7 separate regions of the Homo sapiens genome follow, and regions 1, 2, 4, 5, 6 and 7 are each linked to region 3. Evidence: promoter capture Hi-C in 16 types of primary human blood cells and fetal thymus (Javierre and others, 2016). All regions are on one chromosome and are shown on one strand. The core of a region is centred on a gene start or on the middle of the fragment in contact, and the rest is flanking DNA. Distances in the headings are between cores, read along the strand shown.

The links. Contacts are between HindIII fragments. The CHiCAGO score rates a contact against its expected background, and 5 or more counts as called.
Region 1: a contact is called between a fragment that was not itself captured here and the fragment with the promoter of OLR1 in region 3, in 1 of 17 cell types (naive CD8 T cells). The highest score is 5.0, in naive CD8 T cells.
Region 2: a contact is called between the fragment with the promoter of KLRF1 here and the fragment with the promoter of OLR1 in region 3, in 2 of 17 cell types (activated CD4 T cells and neutrophils). The highest score is 7.4, in activated CD4 T cells.
Region 4: a contact is called between a fragment that was not itself captured here and the fragment with the promoter of OLR1 in region 3, in 2 of 17 cell types (monocytes and neutrophils). The highest score is 5.5, in monocytes.
Region 5: a fragment that was not itself captured here is called in contact with the fragment with the promoter of OLR1 in region 3 in 3 of 17 cell types (monocytes, neutrophils and M1 macrophages); the score reaches 7.9 in monocytes.
Region 6: a fragment that was not itself captured here is called in contact with the fragment with the promoter of OLR1 in region 3 in 1 of 17 cell types (neutrophils); the score reaches 5.7 in neutrophils.
Region 7: a fragment that was not itself captured here is called in contact with the fragment with the promoter of OLR1 in region 3 in 1 of 17 cell types (naive B cells); the score reaches 5.5 in naive B cells.

The regions. Positions count from the first base shown.
Region 1 is chr12:10,654,196-10,657,634 of GRCh38, reverse strand. All of the region lies in intron 1 of STYK1 (serine/threonine/tyrosine kinase 1), which reads left to right. Among named protein-coding and RNA genes, the nearest start is that of STYK1, 18 kb to the left of the region's middle. The HindIII fragment of the contact is 515 bases long and covers 1,361-1,875 here.
Region 2 is chr12:9,825,402-9,829,058 of GRCh38, reverse strand. It overlaps KLRF1 (killer cell lectin like receptor F1), which reads right to left and starts at 1,578. Exons shown (of 6, transcript NM_016523.3): 1 at 1,430-1,578. The coding sequence starts at 1,514. The HindIII fragment of the contact is 7,114 bases long and covers 61-3,657 here.
Region 3 is chr12:10,170,773-10,174,072 of GRCh38, reverse strand. OLR1 (oxidized low density lipoprotein receptor 1) reads left to right here and starts at 1,941. Exons shown (of 6, transcript NM_002543.4): 1 at 1,941-2,071. The coding sequence starts at 1,996. It also overlaps a transcript of TMEM52B not described here. The HindIII fragment of the contact is 3,279 bases long and covers 1,150-3,300 here.
Region 4 is chr12:9,789,909-9,793,628 of GRCh38, reverse strand. No RefSeq gene overlaps it. Among named protein-coding and RNA genes, the nearest start is that of CD69, 31 kb to the right of the region's middle. The HindIII fragment of the contact is 2,133 bases long and covers 1,067-3,199 here.
Region 5 is chr12:9,750,230-9,753,724 of GRCh38, reverse strand. CD69 (CD69 molecule) reads left to right here. Exons shown (of 5, transcript NM_001781.2): 5 at 136-1,239. The coding sequence ends at 244. Among named protein-coding and RNA genes, the nearest start is that of CD69, 8.9 kb to the left of the region's middle. RefSeq lists a silencer at 2,178-2,257 and an enhancer at 2,718-3,012. The HindIII fragment of the contact is 472 bases long and covers 1,908-2,379 here.
Region 6 is chr12:9,700,072-9,703,450 of GRCh38, reverse strand. LINC02390 (long intergenic non-protein coding RNA 2390) reads right to left here and starts at 67. Exons shown (of 2, transcript XR_931347.3): 1 at 1-67. It also overlaps a transcript of CLECL1 not described here. RefSeq lists an enhancer at 1,230-1,279. The HindIII fragment of the contact is 3,890 bases long and covers 1-3,329 here.
Region 7 is chr12:9,808,061-9,811,791 of GRCh38, reverse strand. It overlaps a transcript of KLRF1 not described here. Among named protein-coding and RNA genes, the nearest start is that of KLRF1, 18 kb to the left of the region's middle. The HindIII fragment of the contact is 590 bases long and covers 1,104-1,693 here.

The DNA of each region.
Region 1 (3,439 bases), core at 369-2,868, 480 kb before region 3:
AACAATTTTCAAAAGTCAAATAAGCAGTTTATGACCTTAAAGTATTTAGCAAATCTAATTATCTGATCTGCCTAATTTAGACCAAATGTCTAAATTTGGAAGACATTTTTATTTTACCAATAATCTTTAAAACTGTCTTTATTTCCCAAAGCTTCCTAAAGTCACATGAACTAAAAAGCATTACAGTTTTTATTTTTCTGACAAAATATTTAAGTGCTTATTATTTTTAAACCAATTAATCAGAGCTCTTTCATATATAAATGTTACACATACAACACATATGACTACACAACAGACAGAAGATCCAGTAGTTGTAAGATTTTTCATTTGCCAATTTTTAAGTTTCTTAATTGAATTACTGGCTTCAGGGAGGAGCCCTTTGAGGAACAGGGCCAGGAAAGCATGCAATTTCTAGAGCCTAATAGGCAGGCACAGCTGGAAGGCAAAACAGATTTCAAAAATTTAAGGGTCCCATTTTTATACCAGATCTTGGATCCCAAAAAAGAGGAAATCAGCCCACCTCCTATGGAACTCTTATCTCTCAGTGTGGCAATGGGGACACTTCCAGTATCTTCCAGGTGGTCAAGAGTATGCTTCTCTGATCCAAACATGCAAAGAGTTAAGTATCCCCCATAACTTCCATTAGCCATCCCTAAAAGTATGTTTCCTACCTAGTTATTACAAACCAAAGCTCTCTCATAATAAGAAGTAATTTCTGATACCCACAAAAGTCAAAACTGTCAGATAACACAATACAAAATGAAACAAAGCATTAGATTTTGAGAGGGATTTATTTATCCCCTTTCAATTCTAGTGGTTTCATAAGGAAAACAGAGGCTTTTTTCCAAAACAGGATCTGTGGCAACTCCTCTGTTTTTCCCAAGGAGTCTCAAGCTGTTAGAAATTATCTTAGATCCCCTCATGTGTATCAAGAGTGGCAAGAAGATAAAACGGAGAAAAACAATTGTATTAATCCCTTGTTTTTTTGTTTTTTGTTTTTTGTTTTTTTTGAGATGGAGTCTCACTCTATCGCCCAGGCTGGAGTGCAGTGACGTGATCTCGGCTCACTGCAAGCTCCGCCTCCCAGGTTCATGCCATTCTCCTGCCTCAGCCTCCCAAGTAGCTGGGACTACAGGTGCCCACCACCATGCCCAGCTAATTTTTTGTATTTTAGTGGAGACAGGGTTTCACCATATTAGCCAGGATGGTCTCTATCTCCTGACCTCGTGATCCACCTGCCTCAGCCTCCCAAAGTGCTGGGATTACAGGTGTGAGCCACCGCACTCAGCCCTGTATTCATCCATTTTCATGCTGCTGATAAAGACATACCTGAGACTGGACAATTTACAAAAGAAAAGCTTTAATGGACTTACAATTCCACGTGGCTGGGGAGGCCTCACAATCATTGTGGGAGGCAAAAAGGAGGAGAAAGCCATGTCTTTTGCCTGTGGGCGACAGGCAAAGAGAGAGAGCTTGTGCAGGGAAACTCCCACTTTTAAAACTATCAGGTCTCACGAGACTTATTCAGTATCACAAGAACAGCATGGTGAAGATCTGCCCCCATAATTCAGTTATTTCCCACTGTGTCCCTTCCACAACACATGGGAATTATGGGAGCTACAAGATGAGATTTGGGTGGGGACATAGCCAAACCCTATCAACAATTTAGTCAACTGAGAAGAAAAAAACTTTTTCCTCAGAGAAATAAGATCCAAGAAGAGAAAAAACATAAAAACCTTTTAAATATACGTATAGCTCATATATCTTCTTTTAATTAAAGCTGACTTTTAACCATAGCACTTCAAAAATGCTTTTAAATCTCTTATTACCTGACTTCAGCCAGGCCACACAATCCATTTTTCTGGCTTTTAAGCTTTACCAAAGGTAACCTCCCAGATGAAACCAGTAAGCTTTCACTAAGGTTATGACTTAATCACAAGTGTACCAGTATTTTAAAAGAGATGATTAGCAGTTTTTACAAGATTTAGAGTCTACAAGGTGCCTCAGAGAAAGGAAGATTCAAGAAGGGAAGATAGAAGTTGTTCATGGGGGGAGGGGATAAAATCAACAAATGGCAAAGATCACACCAATATCAACCTGAAAGTACTCATTCCCTAAACCAGAAATTGAACGCTGAACCAGGGATGCCATTGTGAAAAGGCAAAGCCTTAGCTACTAAGCTACAGCATTGGGAAGTTTCCATTGCCTTCTCAGAAAGAGCCTGGAGCAGACAATTTTGAGCCAATGAAGGCTTTTAACTGCTCAAAACAATTTTTAGAGCTAACTTTGTCATAAACTCCAAAATTGCTGTCCTCTGGATGGCAGAAACTAAGAGAAAGTACTGCCACATGGTTACAAGGTCAAGCTCCCAAGGATATAAAACAAGATGAGAGAGAAACCCTATCTAGCTTATGGAGTCCCAAGCCTGTGTTCTATCCCAAGGTACCTCCCCTTTATGACAGAATAACACAGAAAGACAAATTCAAAGCACAAAATACACCAGATTCACTACAGCATTAAGACTAGCCTCATGAATCCTTTTATTCATTAATTAAAACGTTGCAAGAGAGTGATTTCTACCATTCCTACAACTGGTTTGTACAGAGAGGGAGGAAAGGGAAGGGATAAAAGTGTTGCCTACAGTGGGGTGGGGAAGGCAAGGAGCTCAGAGAGACTAGGTAGTGAAGGATCTTTTCTAGCAGTCCAGTCAGCTCTCAAGTTTCCCACTTTGGGGAGAAAAAAGCTCCCCGTGTCTGGTGATCCTGTACATGCCTATTCCTGTCATCCATATCTGTCAGCAAAGAGTGCAAGGCAGATTAATCCAAAGAGAATAGCAGTTAACATCCCATAGTGTCAAATCCACTTTTAACCAAGAAGGACTTTACTGAGAGGGGCCTCTAATCCCTAAATCTTAGGAAGGACTCTAACCTTTCTAAATTGGGCCTCAAACTCAAGTTTCATTAAGCATCCTTGCCTTTTATTAGGAGGGGCCTTAACCCTCTCTGTCTTAGGAGAGACTCTCCTAAGTTGGACCTCTAACCCAATCTGATCCTTTACCTGGGCAAAACATACCCCGCCCCTTACCTAAAGTCTGCCAATTGGCAGTGCTGTGGTCTATTTCCTTTGGGTCCATAGGATTCTCCTCAGTATAGTCCCTTCATGGTTTCCAGGAAGATGTTATTGGAAAGGGGTCCCAATCCAGACCCCAAGAGAGGGTTCTTGGATATTGCTAAAGAAATAATTCAGGGTGACTCCATAGAGTAAAGTGAAAGCACATTTACTAAGAAAGTAAAGGAAAAAAGGAATGGCTACTCCACAGGCAGAGCAGCAGTGTGGGCTACTTGACTGAGTATACTTAGTTATTTCTTGATTATATGCTAAACAAGGGGTAGATTATTCATGAGTTTTCTGGGAAAGGGTTGGGAAGTGAAGGTTCCAC
Region 2 (3,657 bases), core at 329-2,828, 340 kb after region 3:
CATAACCCCAAGGCTCACATTGTCAATCTAATTCACATAAAATACGTCTTACCTCAAGCTTTAATAAATATTAGCTAAAGGTACAAGACATAAATATTAGTATGTGTCACTTAAATATCTGGGAGCCGAAAATCTGCACATTTTTGCTTCAGAGAGACATTTATGAACAGAGTGTGGAAAAAAGTCTGCAGAGAAGTCACTACATGTTGTAGTCTTTCAGGTTTAATATCTCTAATTTCCAAAAATGAAATAAAAATTGAGTGTAGGAAGTAAAGACTTGAAAATATGGGAATCTAAAAATTCACATGGAAGAGGCAATAAATTTCTTATACATAGCACGTATGTAACTCTAAGATGAATCACTGATGGATGATACTTGTGGAAGGACTCAAGAGATAAGTAAAATTTTCATGGGTGAAGTTATTAAAAGAGAAATATTTAGAAAGCAACAGAACAGAACAGACAGTCTCTATAACTGTGATTATTTGTGTCTTTAATTTCTGCTTATCTCTTTTGCCAAATCACATTAAGGTGGCATGATGGAATTGCATTGTGTATGGAGGGTATGCTTGAAGTAGCAAATTAAAATGTTGATTGCTGGTGTATAAACTTTATTTTGAGTCAACTTGGTGAAAAGCATAAAGTTTTTGAGAAGTTGAATTAAAAATTAGTATTAAAGGCTGGGCGCGGTGGCTCATGCCTATAATCCCAACACTTTGGAAGACTCAGGTGGGTGGATCACCTGAGGTCAGGAGTTCAAGACCAGCCTGGCCAACATGGTAAAACCCCATCTCTACTAAAAACGCAAAAAATTAGCCAGGCATGGTGGCGGGCACCTATAATCTCAGCTACTCAGGAGGCTGAGGCAGGAGAATTGCTTGAACCTGGGAGGCAGAGGTTGCAGTGAGCCGAGATCATGCCATTGCACTCCAGCCTGGGCAACAACAGTGAAACTCCGTCTCAAAAAAAAAAAATAGCATTAAAACACCATATTCTATGAATGATAAGGAGGTGAATGGCAGCAAATATTCACTAATTTGAAATTATTAATTTTAATTGAGTATGCATATTTCCTCAGAGAATGTCCTTAAGAAATTATATCAGACAAAATATTACAAGTAAGTGTTAGTTCCACATTGATAAATGGGAGAGAGAGAGATTATCTCATAGTAAATTTGTAAGATTAAATGAAGGAACATAGATAAAACATTCTGTATAGTGCCGGAAACTGGTGTTTCTTAAATGGTAAGAGAGGTTGTTATTTTTAAATCATTATTAATATTGAAAGAGAGGACAGGTGAGAGAGATACAGAGACGGAGAAAGAAAAGCACCCAAATACTGAAACAGTCCAATAACACAATGGAACAGGATACGGGAAACTACCATGTTAATTCACACCAATTGAAAAAATGAAATTAAATTCCATACCTTTAAATGTAAGTTGAGATGTTTGGGCAGAACTCCTTTTCTTTGACTGTACATTCAATGTCATGTATCTTTCTTCATCTTGCATCTTCAATGTGAGTGAATGTGTGTGTATACAGGTATGTTTTGTTTTATTAAGTATAACATGAAATGAGGAAAGAATAATAAATCTGCTGCTAATCAGAGATGCTCCTCAAATTGTCCTTTCACAGTACATATGAGGGTTCACAGTTTCACTTATTTGTGAAAACCTCAGAGGAAATGTTTTCTTTTTAAAAGTTGCTTTCCCATGACATAGATAACACATAATTTCTCAACTGTCCACCACATATTGAATTGAATATTCTTTTGAGTGCTTTACAAATTTCTCTTAATTTACCCTTAAAGTCAAGGGAATGGAAATTATGCCCCTTTTTGAGGTGAGGTTAATAATATATAGCTGCCTTTTGTTATAGCCTAAATATTTATATCATTTGAATTAGCCTCCCTAACATATTGATATTTAATTTAATAATTTGCAATTGCCAAGCAATTAAATTCTTTATCCTAAAACAATATTGTTTATAAATCATGCTAATAATTTAACAGTATAATTTGATTTTTTTTAACTTTTAGGTTCAGGGCTACATGTGTAGGTTTGTTATATAGGTAAAATCATGTCACAGGGGTTTGTTGTACATATTATTTCATCACCCAGGTATTCAGACTAGTACTACATAGTTATGTTTTTCTGATCCTGCCCCTCCTCTCACCCTCCACCTTCAAGTAGGCTCCGGTGTCTGTCATTCTCCTCTATGTGTACATGTGTTCTCATCATTTAGATCCCAATTATTAGTGAGAACATGTGGTATTTGGTTTTCTGTTCCTCCATTAGTTTGTTAAGGGTAACGGCCTCTAGCTTCATCTATGTTCCTGCAATGGACATCATCTCATTCTTTTTTATAGCTGCATAGTATTCCTTTGTATATGTGTATCACATTTTCTTTATCCAGTCTACCATTGATGGGCATTTAGGTTGATTGCATGTCTTTGCTATTGTCAACAGTGCTGCCATGAACAGATGCATGCATGTGTCTTTATGATAGATTTATATTCCTTTGGGTATATACCAGTAATGGGATTGCTGGGTCAAATTTCTGGTTTTAGGTCTTTAAGGAATCACCATGCTATCTTTCATAATGGTTGAACTAATTTACACTCCCATCAAAGGTGTATAAGTGAACCCTTTTCTCCACTACCTCATCAGCATCTGTTATTTTTTGACTTTTTAATAATAGCCATTCGACTGGTATGAGATGGTATCTTACTGTGGTTTTAATTTGCATTTCCCTAATGATTAGTGCCTACTGGAGGATAGAGGGTGGGAAGAGGGAAAGGATCAGGAAAAATAACTAATGGGTACTAGGGTTAATACCTGGGTGAAGAAATAATCTTTACAGCAAACCCCCATTACACAAGTTTACCTATGTAACAAATTTGCACATGTACTCCCAAATTTAAAATAAAATTTTAAAAACACAATATACCCTTTTAAATAAGATAAACTATTAATTCAAGGAGAAAATATTTGACAAATTATCAGAAATATATTTGTTGCTTAATGACAAAAGTAAAAGGATAATACATTTTTGTGTTATTTTTGTTTATTTTTACTTGCTAAATTTTGTTCTTTAATTTATAATTACAATTTCTTTGGCCATTATTTGACACTCCAAATGGATAAGAAGTAAATTAAGATTGATAAATAAAACACGAAAAGTATCTGTTCATGTCCTTAGTCCACTTTTTAATGGGGTTGTTTATTTTTTGCTTGTTGATTGGTTTAAGTTTCTTACAGATGCTGGATATTAGACCTTTGTCAAATGCATAGTCTGCAAAAATTTTCTCCCATTCTGTAGATTATCTGTTCACTCTGTTGATAGTTTCTCTTGCTGTGCAGAAGCTCTTACAGTTAATTATTTTGTTTGTTTGTTTTGTTTTGTTTCACTTTTGTTGCAATTGCTTTTGGCATCTTTGTCATGAAATATTTGCCCATTCCTGTGTCCAGGATGGTAATTCCTAGGTTATCTTCCAGGGTTTTTTATATTTTGGGGTTTTAGACATAAGTATTTTATCCATCTTGAGTTGAGCTTTGTATATGGTATAAGGAAGGGGTCCACTTTCAATCTTCAGCATGTGGCTAGCCAGTTATCTCAGCACCATTTATTAAAAAGGGAATCCTTTTCCCATGG
Region 3 (3,300 bases), core at 692-3,191:
CAAACAAACAAACAAACAAACAAAACACATGAAATTCACCATCACAGGAGTTATTGCTTGGTGGGTATAGAGTTTCAGTTGGGGAAGATGAAAAGTTCTGGAGATGGATGGTGGTGATGGCTGCACAACAATGTAAATGTACTTAATGCCACTGAACAGTACACCTAAAAATGGTTGAAATGGTAAACACTTTATGTTCTATAATATTCATGGCATCCAAAATAACTGAGTCACTGTAGAAATGATAATGTGCCCTTTTCAGTGTGATATCGTTTCAGTATTTTTTAATTCTTTTTTTTTTTTTTTTTTAAAGGGAGTCTCGCTCTGTTGCCCAGGCTGGAGTACAGTGGCACAATCTCAGCTCACTGAAAATGAAAAGCATTTTCATTTTCCACCTCCCAAATAGCTGGGATTATAGGCTTGCAACCAGGCCCAGCTAACTTTTGTATTTTTAGTGGTGACAGGGTTTCAACAGGTTGGCCAGGCTGGTCTCGAACTCCTGACCTCAGTGATCCACCCCCCCCCTCAGCTTCCCAAAGTGCTGAGATTACAGGCATGAGCCACTGCACCTGGCCAACTTTTTCAATTTGTTCTCAAATACTCTGCACATAATAAAAGGAATATAGGAAACAGGGAGGAGGAGGGAAATGGAATCCTAATTAGGCTGTCAATATTGGTAATTTTTCCTAATAGTTTCCTATATGTTTTATTTATGTATTTATTTTTCCATTCTTCCTTTGTGTATTCTTTTCTTTGCACTTTTTTTTCCTGGAGTAATTTAAAGTAAATGCCAGATATCATATCATTTTGCTTATAAATACTTCCTTCAGAAGACATCTCTAATAGATATATATCTGGTTAGGAGGTTGTCAAGGGAAAATAGAAAAGTATTCTATCAGTAAATACATATAGACATACTTATGGGTCTCTCATGTAAGCGTCTTTGTGACATGAGTCAATCATGGATTTTACTGAAATACATTATTTGATGGGTAATTCAACTGTGCTGAATATTAGTACTATACTAATAATTATTATTTATTGGCTTCTTATTATGCTCCAAGTACAAAGCTTGTCATTTTTAACCAGCGTGTCATTTGAATTCCTATAGCAACGTGACATTTTTCACAAACCTAGTGTAAAAAAGCTTATTATTTTTACCCAGCATGTCATTTGAATTCCTATAACAATGTTATCAGGTAGACATTATCCCTAATTTCCAGACATGTCATTTGAATTCCTATAACAATGTTATCAGGTAGACATTATCCCTAATTTCCAGACAAAGACATAGATTCAAAGTATTAAGATTTCCCAAGATTGTAGACTAAAGGAAAGTACTGAAACTAGCTCTTTCTGCATTCAAAGTGCTCTCTGCTGCTACGTTACACTGGCACTGCATGAACTAGTAGCCCCAGATAAATTCTAAAATCACCCAGGACACACCATCGCTGGAAATGGGAGCCATATGTGATTCACCCCAAAATTCTTAGATCCATTGCCAGATAAAACAGTGAAAATCAAAAGAGAATATATCTGATTCGTAAAAGACACCATATAGAAACAGTCTGCTAATGAAATTAGCAAACAAACATTGGAATCAAATATTTTGGCCCATAATTCTGGCACATTTTTTACAAATGTAGTGTGACTTACTCTCTTTGAATTTCAGTTTCTGTCTCTGAAGAGTGGGTACAATATCTCTCCTCTGATGCTCATGAAAAATAGTTTTCCCTTTCATAAATTACTTAGCGAAATATCCTGAAACACCTTCAGAATCACCACTTTCTCCACCTGCAATACACATAACTCAAGAATTTGCGTCAGCGAACTTCCCAATATGAAGCAAAGCCTCTCCTTCCTCCTACCAATGATTGAGTCATTCTTCTATTAGATAACAGTAGCTATTTAAATACTTCTGCAGAAGCTCACATATTTTTAGTTTGTTGAAGTTCGTGACTGCTTCACTCTCTCATTCTTAGCTTGAATTTGGAAATGACTTTTGATGACCTAAAGATCCAGACTGTGAAGGACCAGCCTGATGAGAAGTCAAATGGAAAAAAAGCTAAAGGTACTAGGGATGGGAAAATGTGTACAGGGAAAGAATCCCAGTGTTAGCCCCAAAATGTAAATTCACCGAAGAATGGGATTAGAAAGCTAAACACCCAAGTATGGGAAAATAGAATTAATACCATTTACTTAAAAGAAAAACAAGAAGGCTATAATGATGATGATGATGACAACTTATTTATAACAATTTATACTGAGTATTTACTACAGGTTATTCTATATGTTATTCACTTTCAGAGTATTATTTCTCAGAATCTTCGCAATAACATTTTGAGATTGGTACTATTACTATCTCCCTTTTACAGAGAGCTAACTGGGCATCAGGAGGACTAACAACATCATCCAGTTTCACGGAGCTAATAAGTGGTAGAGCTAGGACTGTACCACAAACTCCCATTTATCCAGAATTCTATACATCGGAGGGCTCGGGAACCAAATTTATCTGGTGTATATAACGATAATTTCTGTAAGAGTCCTTCAGGCACTACAAAAACCTGAAGTACCTCATGAATTATGCAGGCAAAGTAAATGATATTCAGTATAGTTTAGCATAAGTTACATTTTGTTGTGTACTACTGCTTTGAAAAATTGTAAGTTCTGTTTGACCCATACAGTAATTAAATTGCATAGCTATAAATTAATTCATAATCCCAATTCCACAGACAATCTGGGTAAATTGCCTTTTATTCTATATCTGTTCTGAGGAAAATGAACAGAATATAAGGAGAGAAAGAGAGACAAGTATTGTCAGAAATTTGGATAAAGAAATTCCAAATTACATTTCCAAAAACAAAACAGAAATTTCTCTCAATAGAGAACATAAGTGTGAGCATGGAGTGATTTAACATTTGAGCCAATGAACTAAATTGCTATAAAAACTGCTGATATTTATAGGTAAAACCAGAAGTGAACAATAGTCATTCGTTTCTTTACTCATTCATTATTTGTGTAGTAAATATTGAGGGTCTGAATTTTACAATAATCATGAGATTGATTTTTCTTTCAGAATCTTGGTTAGATCGGTACCTACTGCAAAGAATCGGATTGGTTTATGATTGGAAAATCACTAGTAGGGGCAGCAGTTGGATTAATGGTCTCTGCCTACCAAGGACACAGGACAAAGAGAATCTATAGAAAAAGGGAACACATACCTTCCTTCACAGGGTCCTGTGATTTTCTTTTTCCTCTAAAAATTTAGTTTTTCATTATTTAAGAGTGATGAGGCCAGGC
Region 4 (3,720 bases), core at 884-3,383, 380 kb after region 3:
TTCATCGTGAAGCATGGGGCAATAGTACTTTTTAGTATTAACATGTAGGTAAACAAAGATATTTCCTATTTTATGCATCAATTTAATATTTGATATGTTCTGCTGTACTTCTGGATACAAAGTGCTCCTTGATTTTATCATTCAATTCCATTTGACTCAGTACACCTATGACTCAAACCAACCATGTGGTCAATGGAAAAAACACAGAGATACGGCCTTAGCCACTATAGTCAAAGGTATACATTTTGTCTTTACAGCCACTTTCCTGTCTATTTCTTTGGAAAAAATCATTTGCCTACATAATATGGTCCTGGGAGGTTTTCAGTCAGAATATACCATCCTCCTGGTTGAAATGATTACTTTAAAAATGGCAGATGAAGCTTCCAATGCAATAAAATATTGATCTACATACTCTGATGACAGTAAATAGAACTATGTTTGCTTTTTATCTGTATGACTCATGTTTATGGTTTCCTACAAAATGTTCATTTCTGTGTGTTTATCAGAGAGTCAAAACATTCCTTATGATTATCCCCCAAAAAATGCCAGATGCAAGGAGTTGGAGGAGCAGATCTTGTTGAGATACAGGCTGCAGAGAAATTCCGTTTGCTCATTCTTTTGTAGTATTGATTGGTATGGCTCTTAGGGAGTAAAATGATATGTATCATCCAAAAAATAAATACATCAAGAATGATATCCCAATTTTTTGCTAGGATTTGTCCCCAAATTTCTTCAGGCTGTGTTACAGGTCAGGTTCCTCAAAAACAGACTCTCAGATGAAGGATTACATAAAGGATGTTAAGTACCTGTGGATGAGAAAGAAAGGATTGGGCAAAGGCAGATATTGAATTGTGATGCAGTAACACAAAGGCTTCAGCTAACAGTATAGGGAGCTCTGGAGGTGAGTGCCCTTTCAAGTTTATCTTGATATAAGGCAACAAGTCCAAGCTTTTATACTCCCACACGAACCAGCCGTTTGATACATCTGGCACTGGGAGAAAGTGTGACTTTGAGAAGGCACTTCTGTTTAGCTGAGAGCCATACAAGGAAGATTCAGTTGAAAGCTTCTGACTCCCAGGTGCTGAGACAATGAGGCTTCAGTCCAAAGTGGAGACACACCATTGCACCCATTGTAAATGGAAAACCAGTTTTTAAATCAAAAGATAAGGAAGACATATATATATATATACACACACACACACACATATATATACATATATACACACATATATGCAGATAGATAGATAGATAGATGGATAGATAGATAGATAGATAGATAGATAGATAGATAGATAGATAAATTTTCCTGATCAGACTCCTTTGCTTAGGGCTAGCAGCATATATCCAAAAGTCCATTAAAATATCCAACTCAATCTCCCACATATTCCAGAAACAAAAGTGATCATTTTGATTCTTTTCTAAATCTAATTTTACCCCCTAATTTCTGACTCATTTGAAAGAATACTGCCCACAGTTTTAGGAATCAAAGCATGAAGGCCATCCTTGACTCTCTGTCTGCATTTTTTTCTGATTAAATGACCCTACCTAATAAATCATAGACTGTAATGACTAGTAATGTCTTTAATTCAACAACTTTCCATCATCTCTACTTCCACTGCATTGGTCTTAAAGGCAGTCATCTCTCTATGGTATCCCTTTATTCCAGTTCATCTTGCACCTGTTAGACTGAGTAACTTCCAAAAATTGCACCTGTTAACTTCCAAAAATTAATATCTAATTGCAATTTGTCCCAAATTTATAAGAATTTATTACTTTCTTTCTGCACTTAGAATAATTCCAGACTATTTAACAGCATTGATTTCACCCTGTAATCTGGCTTTGTCTCTTGTTCCATTCTTCAGTCTCACTGTAGTGGACCATTCTTTCTCCCATCTCTAAGACTTGTACATTTTACCCTTGTCTACAAAGTTGTTGTTGTTGTTGTTTTTCCTCTGCCTTATTCACCTGGAAAACTGTCTCATCTTTCACTTCTCAGATTAAATATTTACATAATTTTATAGAATGCCACCTTGAGAATAAATTCTCCAAGATGTGTTCTACATGCCCTCATAATTACCTGCTTAATTGTCTTGCCAGACATGAGCAGAAACAGTGGAATAAAGACCTACAAAAAGCTATTCCTTCATAAAATCAACAAGAACATTGACAAAAACTGTCAAAACAAACTTCCTCAGAATACTGTGAATTAACCAAAGACTTGCAAAAATCTGGCAAGCATTTACTCAAGAAAATAGGTGAATTTAATTGAAAACAGTGACCTTTGTGGAGATTTAACTTGCTCTATTCCTATTCCGTATTCCTCAGCTTCACAGTAGCCTTGAAAAACTATAGTAGGTCTTACAACTATAGTAGCAGTAGTGAACTGTAGCCCAACAGGTCTCAGAGGGGCCATAAAGGGTTTAGAAGTCCCAAAAATTATTCTTAGAGTACTGTCATTATTCAAACTATCAAACATGATCTTGGAAATTCCCACCTACGACTTTAGTTGATCTCAAACAGAGCTCGCTCAGTGCAAATGACTTTTTCCCTAGGGGTATTTGACAAAAACAATCAGCACCTATTGCTGTACATTGCAGCTGCTTAATATGGAATAACAGCTGGGGCAAAGGAAAAGCTGACCAAAAAACTTAAGAGGGAAACTTAAGGGATGGGCTGCCTATAGTAGTTCATTGAAATGATACAAAATATTGATACAGCTTCAATGAATGGAGGAACACCAGAGTCCTTTGTCTCACGCCAATTTAGATAAGACAACATGGACACACATGGAGTGGTTTTAAGGAACAGAGAGTTTAATAGGCAAGAAAGAAAGAAGAAGCTCCCAGCTACAGAGACGGGGGGTCGGTGAGGGGTGGGGGTGGCTCCAAGCAGAGAGAGGAAACCCCAAGTATGGTGGAAACAATCTGTTATATTAGAAGGCTGGAGGAGGTGGTGTCTGATTTTTATAGGCCCAGGGGATTGGTTTGACTTAGTATGTCATTCACATAGCCTGCAAAAAAACTGGCTCTCCCACCCTAGTCTTTTAATATGCAAATGCAGGCCGCCATGATTTTCTGCACAGTGGAGACCTCTGGGGGTGCCATGATGCTTGGCACATGTGGTGACAAGGAGAAGAAGGTGGGACTTGCCATATTGGATGGACCCAGCTTCTAATAGCCAGCATTTGCATATCAAAGCTTGCTGGCTTGGCCCTTCAAGCCATTTTTTTGCTAAAAAAGAAATGTTTCTGGAGCTGCTTTTATTTAAAGAAAAAAACCTTACCAAGGACCACTTATCCTATCTGCCTGAAATAATTTCTTAATAATTTCTATAATAATATGATCATCAATATCATGAAAATGACCACACTGCCCAAAGCAATCTACTGATTCAATGCAATTCCCATGAAAATATCAACATCATTTTTCACAGAACTACAGAAAACAATTCTAAAATTCATATGGAACCAAAAAAAGAGCCTGAATAGCCAAAGCAATCCTAAGTAAAAAGAACAAATCTGGAGGCATCACATTACCTGACTTCAAATTATACTACAAGGCTATCATAAACAAAACAGCATGGTACTGGTATAAAATTAAATACGTAAGCCAATGGAACAGGATAGATAGATAACCCAGAAATTAAGCCAAATACTTATAACCAACTGATCTTTGACAAAATGTACGTAGATTGGGGAAATAATTCAATAAATGGTGCTGG
Region 5 (3,495 bases), core at 894-3,393, 420 kb after region 3:
TCTATGATTATTTGACTTGTGTATCCCACTAAGAATTTAAAAGAAGCAGAGGTCACCATCTCCGAGTTCATTCTCATGTAACTGAATGAAAACAATGAGCTGAAAATAATTCTAAGTTTTTTTATTGTTTGACAGGTTCAACGTTACAGGGTCTGACAAGTGTGTTTTTCTGAAAAACACAGAGGTCAGCAGCATGGAATGTGAGAAGAATTTATACTGGATATGTAACAAACCTTACAAATAATAAGGAAACATGTTCACTTATTGACTATTATAGAATGGAACTCAAGGAAATCTGTGTCAGTGGATGCTGCTCTGTGGTCCGAAGTCTTCCATAGAGACTTTGTGAAAAAAAATTTTATAGTGTCTTGGGAATTTTCTTCCAAACAGAACTATGGAAAAAAAGGAAGAAATTCCAGGAAAATCTGCACTGTGGGCTTTTATTGCCATGAGCTAGAAGCATCACAGGTTGACCAATAACCATGCCCAAGAATGAGAAGAATGACTATGCAACCTTTGGATGCACTTTATATTATTTTGAATCCAGAAATAATGAAATAACTAGGCGTGGACTTACTATTTATTGCTGAATGACTACCAACAGTGAGAGCCCTTCATGCATTTGCACTATTGGAAGGAGTTAGATGTTGGTACTAGATACTGAATGTAAACAAAGGAATTATGGCTGGTAACATAGGTTTTTAGTCTAATTGAATCCCTTAAACTCAGGGAGCATTTATAAATGGACAAATGCTTATGAAACTAAGATTTGTAATATTTCTCTCTTTTTAGAGAAATTTGCCAATTTACTTTGTTATTTTTCCCCAAAAAGAATGGGATGATCATGTATTTATTTTTTTACTTCCTCAGCTGTAGACAGGTCCTTTTCGATGGTACATATTTCTTTGCCTTTATAATCTTTTATACAGTGTCTTACAGAGAAAAGACATAAGCAAAGACTATGAGGAATATTTGCAAGACATAGAATAGTGTTGGAAAATGTGCAATATGTGATGTGGCAAATCTCTATTAGGAAATATTCTGTAATCTTCAGACCTAGAATAATACTAGTCTTATAATAGGTTTGTGACTTTCCTAAATCAATTCTATTACGTGCAATACTTCAATACTTCATTTAAAATATTTTTATGTGCAATAAAATGTATTTGTTTGTATTTTGTGTTCAGTACAATTATAAGCTGTTTTTATATATGTGAAATAAAAGTAGAATAAACACAATGGTTTCCAAGAAAGTTCATTCCTTCAAAATACATTAAAAAGTATATACTATATGAGAAAGCAGAAAACAGTTACTATAACTTAGGAAAAAATCCCATGTAGAGTAAAACCCTTAGTTTTATAATAGCTTATACATATCAAATTGTTTTCATATGCTTATATGCTAAAGGGTGTATGTATCCATATCCATTTTTCTGTATATAGCAGATGCTCTGTAATAATTACTCCTCATAGTCAATGCTCTGAAAGTATCTTGTTCAATTCTGAGGTGCTACATACACTTTAGTTATTTATGTAAAATAATTCAATATATAGAAAAGAGGCATAATCTTCATGGGATATTTCAATCAGCAAAAAACTCAATGATGTAGTTTGGATGTGTGTCCCTGCCCAAATCTCATGTCGCATTGTAATCCCCTTTGTTGGAGGTGGGGCCTGGTGGGAGGTGATTACATCATGGGAGCGAATCTCTCATGAATGGTTTAGCATCATCCTCTTGATGGTCTCCTTGCACCTGAGTGAGTTCTCAGGAGATCTGGTCTTTTCAAAGTGTGCAGCACTTTCTCTCTCTCTCTCTCTCTTTCTCTCTCTCTTTCCTGCTTTCTCCATGTGACATGCCTGCTCCCACTCCACTTCACCTTCCAACATACATAAAAGCTCCCTAAGCTTCCGCGGAAGCTGAGCAGTGTCAGCATTATGCTTGTAAAAACTGCAGAACCGTAAGCCAATTAAGCCTTTTTTCTTTATAAATTACCCAGTCTCAGATATTTTTATAGCAATGCAAGAATAGCCTAATACATTTGATTACCTTCAAAATTGTTTTATAAATGTAATTTGCAATATTCTTCTCTGCTTGTTGGAAATGTATGATGTGTATGGTATCTCTAAACTATTGGCAAACGGCAAACAGAAATGTGGATTTCAGACACTGCTTAGTGAAAAATAATGACCTCTGTGCTCCTGAGTTCCCACAGCTGTGGGAAAAAAGAAACAAGCAGCCTCCTAGCGGTAATATTCTATCATTACCAACAATCTACTCCCGAGTCATCTTAGAAAACAATGTCTTGCGATTAATATTTTAGTTATAACATATTTTTATGTGCATAAATCTAATCAAATTATGAAAATTGAGAGCAAGCTTAAAAATATTTCTATATTAGTATGACACAATTTTTAAGTCATTGAATACTGACTGTATCACCTAACAATTCAATGAATTTTATCATTTTTACAAATAATTTTATTGAATCCCTATAATTATGTGAAATGAGCAGCTGATGTATTTCCCTTTCCAGAGGAAGAAGTTGAAATTATGTTGAAAAAGCGACGCAAAACACGGATAACAGAGTTATTTTTTACACATAATTTGAAGTCATTTTATTCATAAGGACAACTGTTTTCTTTAAATAGATAAAAAATATACAATTCTTAAAGGGAATAATGTTATTATTTAAAGTATGACTCTACTTGCAAGTGACCAATGACAAATATAAAAAATGGGTTTGTCTCAAGAACCCCTCCTGCCCCCGGCTAAGTCCCCTGTTACAAAAGTTGCAGTGCCATCTAGTGGTTATACGAGATTACTGCACTTCTGTTTTAAGGATCCTACAAAACATCTATGTGGAGCGTGGAGCTGCTGAGACCCAAAGCACGGGGGCCAGACCGCCCGAGTTTCATCTCTGCCACGCGCGGGCTGACTAGCTATTTTATCAGAACTCGTTCAAAATTCAGCTAAAATTAGTTAGATGTTAAATTAGTTAGTACATGAAAACAAACTTAAAACATTATCTGGCTCCCTAGTACACCATAGGCATGTATTAAATACTCATGATGATTATTAGAACTAGAAACACTATGTCTTCAAACTTCCAGTATTGGCATAAAGCCGCGTTTCTACACGACATGTCTATTTCTACGTAATATATCTTATTTGTATTTGTTTTTGGAAAGCCTTTTAAAAATTTCATTTCACAAGTTATAAGTAAGCACCTACTACTATGGTGGACACCAGAGTTAAAATACTCAGCAAATTCCGCATGGCAACTGGCCTTGTGGAATTCGTGGTCTATTTGTAAAACAAACAACAAGATGAATTGACATGGTGTGATGAATGTTATAATAGGAAAAACGTAGGGTGCTATGGAAGCATATTAAAGATATACTCCTGTATTCAAACCTTTAGCTAATTATCAAAATTTTAACTCTGTAGGCTACATTCATCTTGGATAGTTACATAAATATGTGTAAAATAAAACT
Region 6 (3,379 bases), core at 135-2,634, 470 kb after region 3:
TGCACTCCAGCCTGAGCAACAGAGTGAGACCTTGTCTCAATAAATAAATAAATAAATAAATAAATAAATAAATAACCTAGCACAAATTATTTTAAGAGTGTGTGTGTATGTGTGTATATATAAATATTTTTTACAAATATCCTCCAGTAGTATGAAGTTGATTAGTACAATGGAGGAACAACATTTAACAGCTGTCTTATGCCTTAAGGGACATAAATCTTGATTGTCCATTCATAGATATTGTATTTAAAGGAACAATAACTTTACTCTATTCAATTTAGTAGCAACTTCTCCAGAATGGATTGCAGTCAGAAACTGTCAGATCTCTTTTGGGTGAGAACTTTGGAACGTTAAAAATTCTGTCTCTTAAAAATGAATGATGGTCAGGTAGTTGGATGCAGTAATTAGGATTTCTGTTTATTATAAGTAGAGATAATTTTTCTGGGTTGTCTACTAGTTTAGTTATAGAACAAGTCTTCTCTTCCTCTGTGTTGATTGGAACCTTGGCAGATACACCTTCACTGATTTTACTGAAATTTACTGTTCCACTAAAGTAAGGGTAAAAAGAGAAGGAACAGAATAGAAAACTTTCAGTCTTCAGATTTAATGCTACCAACTCATTAGCAGACCCAGTTTTCAGAGTTACTAGAGGAGTAGAGATGTCTACAGATTTCTGACTAATGTCATCATTAGTTTTCTTTTTAAATTATGCTGTGGAGGAAAGTTAGTTATTTTACATAAGAGAGAAAGGGTTTGCTCTGAGAGAAGCAGCATATAACTTTCCACCTCTATATTTTAATGTACCTTTTGAGTAGGGTTAGGAGCAGTGTTGGTGATATGGGTGGGAAGCAGGGAAATACTGGGCAGAAGAGGGCTGTCCCAAGCAAGAGCCACACATCCTCAAGCCTGGGATCACAGACCAAAATGAGAACATGCATTTCCTGCTTTCCCACTCACATGTTGCTTTTTGGCCCACCCCACACCCCATCCTCTACCCATAAAAACCACAGGCCCCATCACCAGAGTGGCAGAGCAGCAGAGCAGCGGAATAGCAGAGTGACAGAGAAAGAAAGAAAAGAAGAAGCAGCCGGATGTCAGAGAGAAGCAGTTTGAGCTCAGAGGGACAGCTTGATGGTGGGACCTCGGAGAAGAGTTTGTCTGAACTCCAGGGGAATACCACCTTCCCATTCCATCCACTTTCCAGCTCCCTATCCCGCTGAGAGCCACTTCCATCCCTCAATAAAATCCTCCACATTCACTACCCTTCAATTTGTTTGCATGACCTGATTCTTCCTGGACGCTAAACAAGAACTGAGGTACCAAGAAGGCAGGTCCAAAAGGCTGTCACCCTGACCCTCCACTGAGCTGTTAAATACTTGTCATCTGTGGATAGAAAAGCTAAAAGAGCACACTGTAACACTCACCCTCTGGGGCTTGAGGGGTCATGGGAACTCCCCTAGATGTTGCCATGGGGCAGCACAGAGTTCTACTCCTGCTGGCACACAGAAGCCCTCATCCTGATCCCTACACCCACTCACCTGTGAGTTTCCCCTCCCATGAGGGGTTGAGAGCTGTGGGCTGAGTAAACAAGCCAACCCCTTTGCAACTCCTGCAAAGAGGCCAGGGAAGTACCCCATTTCATCAACACTCTTGGCAGGTGCCAATGTCCTCTCATCTTTTCTGCTTTTGCAAGAAAAAAAAGAAATTGATTTTTTATGTAGATTTGAAAACTTCTAGGTTTTAACTCCAAAATATTGTTTATATCTCCAAATTTAGCACAAATGGAGTTGTACCAGTCTCTCTCATTCTGGAGTAGGTTTTAGAAGATTAGTCAATGCACCTTCAGCCATGCTCAGTGCACTGTGTGCCTGATGCTTCATTCCTAGGTGAGACTTTGGCCTAGGTGAGTAGTCATTCCAGCTCTCAGTACATACTTTCTTTTCATTGTATTTGAAGGTTTAGGATTGAATTTGTAGTCATCTATAAAATGGATGATTCTTTATACAAGAAGTAGTTGCAATTTTATCAATCCCTTCCAAAGGAGTAAAGAGAGCATCATTACACTGTGCCTTTTGCCTTTTTTTTTTTCCTTTTCTATGTTTGGGTTGATTTAATTTTGGGTTCAATATTGATGAAACAATTAGAGTAATTTCCTTGGAACACCTTCATGATCAGTTTTACATACCTGATAATTTGATCATCTGCCAACTTCCATGACAACATCATTACTTTTGGAAACATCTCTTACATTGATCTCTGTTCTCCTAACCCCATTGTTCATATTATTTCCTGTGTTAATTGGATACTTATTTCATTTCATAATTCTCTTTATTTGAACCCAACAACTTCGAGATTCTTACACAATTGACTACCATCTCTTCGTTGTTTATATGATGTACCATAACATGTGGTTCTCCATCTGTCTTTATAGTTTCTTGTTTTACTCCTTGGAGTTTTGTGAGAAATCTCTAGCACCACTGTCATGGACTTAGGATCTTTTTTTGGAGGGGGCCATATTTATCCTATCTCTTGGCATTGCACTCAGTTCATTTTTATCTATATCTCTTCAATTCTGGATTAAGTGTCTATTCCAAATTGTAGTGATGCTATAGCTTCATTAGACATTTTTGGGCAATCAGAGATAGAGGTTTCACTTGTCAGTATGAGGCAGAGCACTGTTCATAATTTCAGCAACACTTTGGGAATTCACTACGTAAGAAGGTCCTACCCCTTGGATGTAGGCAAGTTCATGTTGCACGCTTTGGGAATGTAGGTTCAAAGGCAATAGATCTTTTGTCTTCTTAGGTGAATCTGATGGCAAGAGTTTGAAATATGCAGTTTGGGCATTATACCGAACCTCATAAAAGTCAGATAAGGCTTTCTTGTTAGATGTGTTGCAGGAGCACTTGCAGTTTGCTCCTGCTTTTTGTCATTTGGAAAAAACAACCTAATTTTAAAACTGTCAAGTGAAGTGTGATGGCTAATTTTATATGTCAACTTGATTGAGATAAGGTATACTCAGCAGGGAAAGCATTATCTCTGGATGTGTCTATGAGGGCCAGTGTGACAGAGCTCATATTTTATAAAAATATGTTTTTTCTGTGATCTGATATTTCATGCAAATGAATCAACATTATTTTAACAAAGCTGTATTTTAGTTCTATTCTCTTTTGTTTGCAGAAAACTGATAAGAGAAGTACAATCATATTGGGCTTTAGATCTTAGCCTCCTGCCAAGGAAATTATGGAATCTTTGTGAATTGTGGTTGGTTACATAGTTTCTAAGCCAGAGATTGTTTCCTCTTCTTACCTATGTAGGAAGTACAAGCTTCCTAGTATTCTCTTCTGCAAGCTAGAGAACCAGGAAAGCCAGTGTTGTA
Region 7 (3,731 bases), core at 149-2,648, 360 kb after region 3:
TAAGACATGTATACCAGCCCCCTCTCACTTCTTCAGAGAGTGAACTTTCGGATTTTCCCGAAAGCTGCATTTCCCTAATTCTAGGGTTATTTTTCCCTCTGAAAATAAAGTCTTCTCCTTTCCTTCCTTTGTGGATCTCATGGTCTTTTGATAATGAAGATAATAAAAGATCCAATTCCGCCTAATATCTTAAGTCCAACTTTTATCTAATTTAACACTTTTCCTCTCTCTCAGCTTGGATTGGATCTGCTTAGTTTGGGACCATTAAGGGGGCAAGTGAGTATAACGGGCTCTGCATGAGCTTCTTCCCTCTCTAGTATCTCTTTCCATTCCCCAACCCTGATCCCCAGAATGAGTGAAGGTGAAACAAAGGGAATAGAAATAAACACGGAATAAAGATGTTACCAGCCTGGACAGTTTTAATCTGTATGCTGACACTCCAAATGTTTTCTCTCTTTTTTTTTTTTTTTTTGGACTACTTCTATGGGTTTTTCAGAAATTCTGCTCCTGGGGTACTCTGCAGTTGTCTGATGTGTGATGTCTCCTTTGGCAATCCTGCTTGCAAATCACTGTACCTCACCCCTCACAACTCCCCAGGTACCTTTTTTTTTTTTGCTTTCTACTCTATACTTCCAGCTTCTTTTCATTGAGGCTGACTTGCCTGTGGTAAGAAGCAGTCTTAGGTGAATTTTATTTTAGGATGGTTCCCAAATGGCTGCTTTGTATGAGATCTTCATCCGGCCCACAGGAAACACTCCCTTCAGCCTCACCATTGCTGGAAGTGTGGCTTAATCTACACATCTGCTTTTACTCTGTGGTTATGTGTAGTTCTAACAAACTCACATACTGAAAGTGTTCACCTCTGCAACCTCCAACTCCCAGAGGACACTTGCCAATATATGACAGAATCCAAACTTGGCTTAAGGTAAAAGAGAAGTTCTTTTGCTTATTGACACAGAAAGATATTGGGAAATGGGAAGTACACTGGCAAGTCACTTCATAAAAAAAATTCTCACTTCCTAATCTCTGAACACTCATAAACTCTTAATGTGCTCTGAAAGTAGATGATAGATCGAAATTTGAAATAAACACTTTTGCAAGCTTGTTAGCATGTCCTATATAGGAGGTCTAGCACCTATAGAATTGTTCTTGACATTTGTGCCCTCAGATAAAAGTAAACAGCAGGAATGACCACATTTTAATATCCTACTAGTCATTCAATATTTATGAATTATTTTCTGAGGACTTATTACATGTCAGACACTGTTTGGGGAGTCTATTTTAGACTTCAAACATCTTTTAAAAACAAACATTTCATTAAACTATAGGTGAAAATTTAAGCATATAGTCATTAAGTTTGTGAATCAGACCTATCTTGGAGAGGAATTTAATTTGTTTAAATTTATCAAAGGACACACAAAAGATAAGCCCTAGTTATTCTAACCACTTATTAACACAGCTACCTGCGATTTCTGGGAGCTTAACTTCCGTTCAGGCTCAGAAACTCTAATTTTGGGAATATACTTGGACCACATTGTTAATTTGGGAGGATTCAGATAAAGTATGAGAAATGCATTCACATTTGACTATGAGAACATCAAGTTATATTGTATAATACCAAAAATAATGGTCCCTTGAATATATCCAGGATGACCTACAAACAGAATTGTTCCTAGATAAAAACCCTCAAGCTTGTAGAAAATCTATGTTGACACTCACTATTCAGATGTTGTCATTCACAACTCTGAGTTTCAGTGATTTAATGATGAAATTTAGGACTGAGAAGCTTGTTTCTTGCAGATTTATCAACCTTGCTAATTGATCTTTATGTCATTCTCCTTTTGTATACTTCAGGTAAATAAATAAATATTTGATTTATTCATGGGGTGATTTTGTTTGATACATTAATCCATAGGCACAGTCAATATTTTCAAAACAGTAGTTTTACATCAAATAAAGCAGCATTAAAAAAAACAGATTTATCAATAGAATAACAACTTTTGAAAGTGGAACTTATTTTTTTAAATCAATTTTCTTAACCTAAGTTTAAATCTAAGTAACCCGCTTTTTCCAACAATAATAACAATTTATCTTTGAATACTACACAAAATCTCATGACATAATCAAAATTAACTGGGGTATATGGATGCTTCTTTCAAGAATTGGTATCAATTCTGCCTTCTGGAGCCAGTAAACTAAGCGTAACATCAATATGACAGCTGTTGGAACAATTTACGTTAACAAACTTATTCCCAGCAGCCCTTTTCCTGATTCTGGCTAAGTAGCTTTAGTTCCTGGAAATAATACTTAAGTTACGGTTTCAACTAATTCAAATCCCTGTTTTTTCTCATCTGTACTCTTAAAAGTAGGCATTTACATATGTGCATGTATGCAGAGGAAAACTAAGAGAAAGTTAAGATGGTTTGAAACAATCACATAAAAATTATTTCAAAGAATTGGGCCAGGAATGGAGGAAAAAAGTCCCACCCTTTCTTTTTAGATATATTTGTATTGATTTTACCTAAAATTCATTACTTCACACAATCTTATTTTGAGCTTGTTGGTCATTGAATTTCCCCTAGTGCTCTTGCATACATCTACAAATAAAGGCAATTCTTCCCATCTTGTTAACTTCTTCAGTTTAGATTTTAATACACTTAAAAAATTCATCTCGCTAAACTCTCAATTTTCTCCGAAATGCAGAATGTTTGGAGTTTATGATTCTATTACTCAGTGTATTAGATATCCAAGTTGTATGTCATCTATACATTGAATATATTAACCTAAGCATTTATAAAATGTGGAGTAAGAGAGAATGAAATGCAAAACATTCTGGCATATAGAAAATGATCTCTCTCCTAACTAATGGCACCTAACCTGAGGTAGCACTGCTTTCATGTAGATATTATAGCATTCTGTGGCATACATCTCAGTGAAAATCATATACATGATACATTCATTGTTTTCCAAAACCATTAATGTGATAAGTCTTTTAACACCAAGAATACGAGGTCATTCTAGCATGACTTGCCTGCTTACTCATATTACACATATGGATATTTACTAAGACTTAGCTAACTATATTTTTAATATTGCACTCTGCCAACTCTTGCCTAAAGCTCTTTGATTCAAACGTCTACCAAACCAAGGCTGCATGATTGCAGCATTCTGTGGTACATGGAGAAACTACTGTTAGCATTCACTCCTGCTTTTGGGGAGGATGCGGGTCTTTTTTGAGCCTACTGTTTTCTTACCATCCTGTCATTGATCTTTAAGCTAGTTAACTTTAAGTGAATATATTTTCTAACATATTAGGATATATAGATGATTACCATGAACCTAGTTACCTGTTATTACAACTAGGGCATAAGTTCTAATTATTTGAAATCACTGTTATTCTGAAAAAAAAATCAAAAAGCAAGTAAATTTGACTCAAAGAAGCAAGTGGAGTGAGATTTATTTTAGACCAATTATTTCTTCTTACTTTTACAAACACATTGGGGGAAAAGCATTAATCAGGAAGGAGCACAAAGGAATTTTCTATGGTACTGGAACTATCCCACAAATGTATCAGAATGGTGATTACATGGATTCACACATATGTCAAATGTATTAAACTGCACAATTTAAATTGGTGCATTTTATTCACTGAGCTGTAGGCAAGTTTTACTTTAGTTAAAAAAAAGAAGTACTCACATACAAAATAAACCAACATATCAAAACAGAAGCAT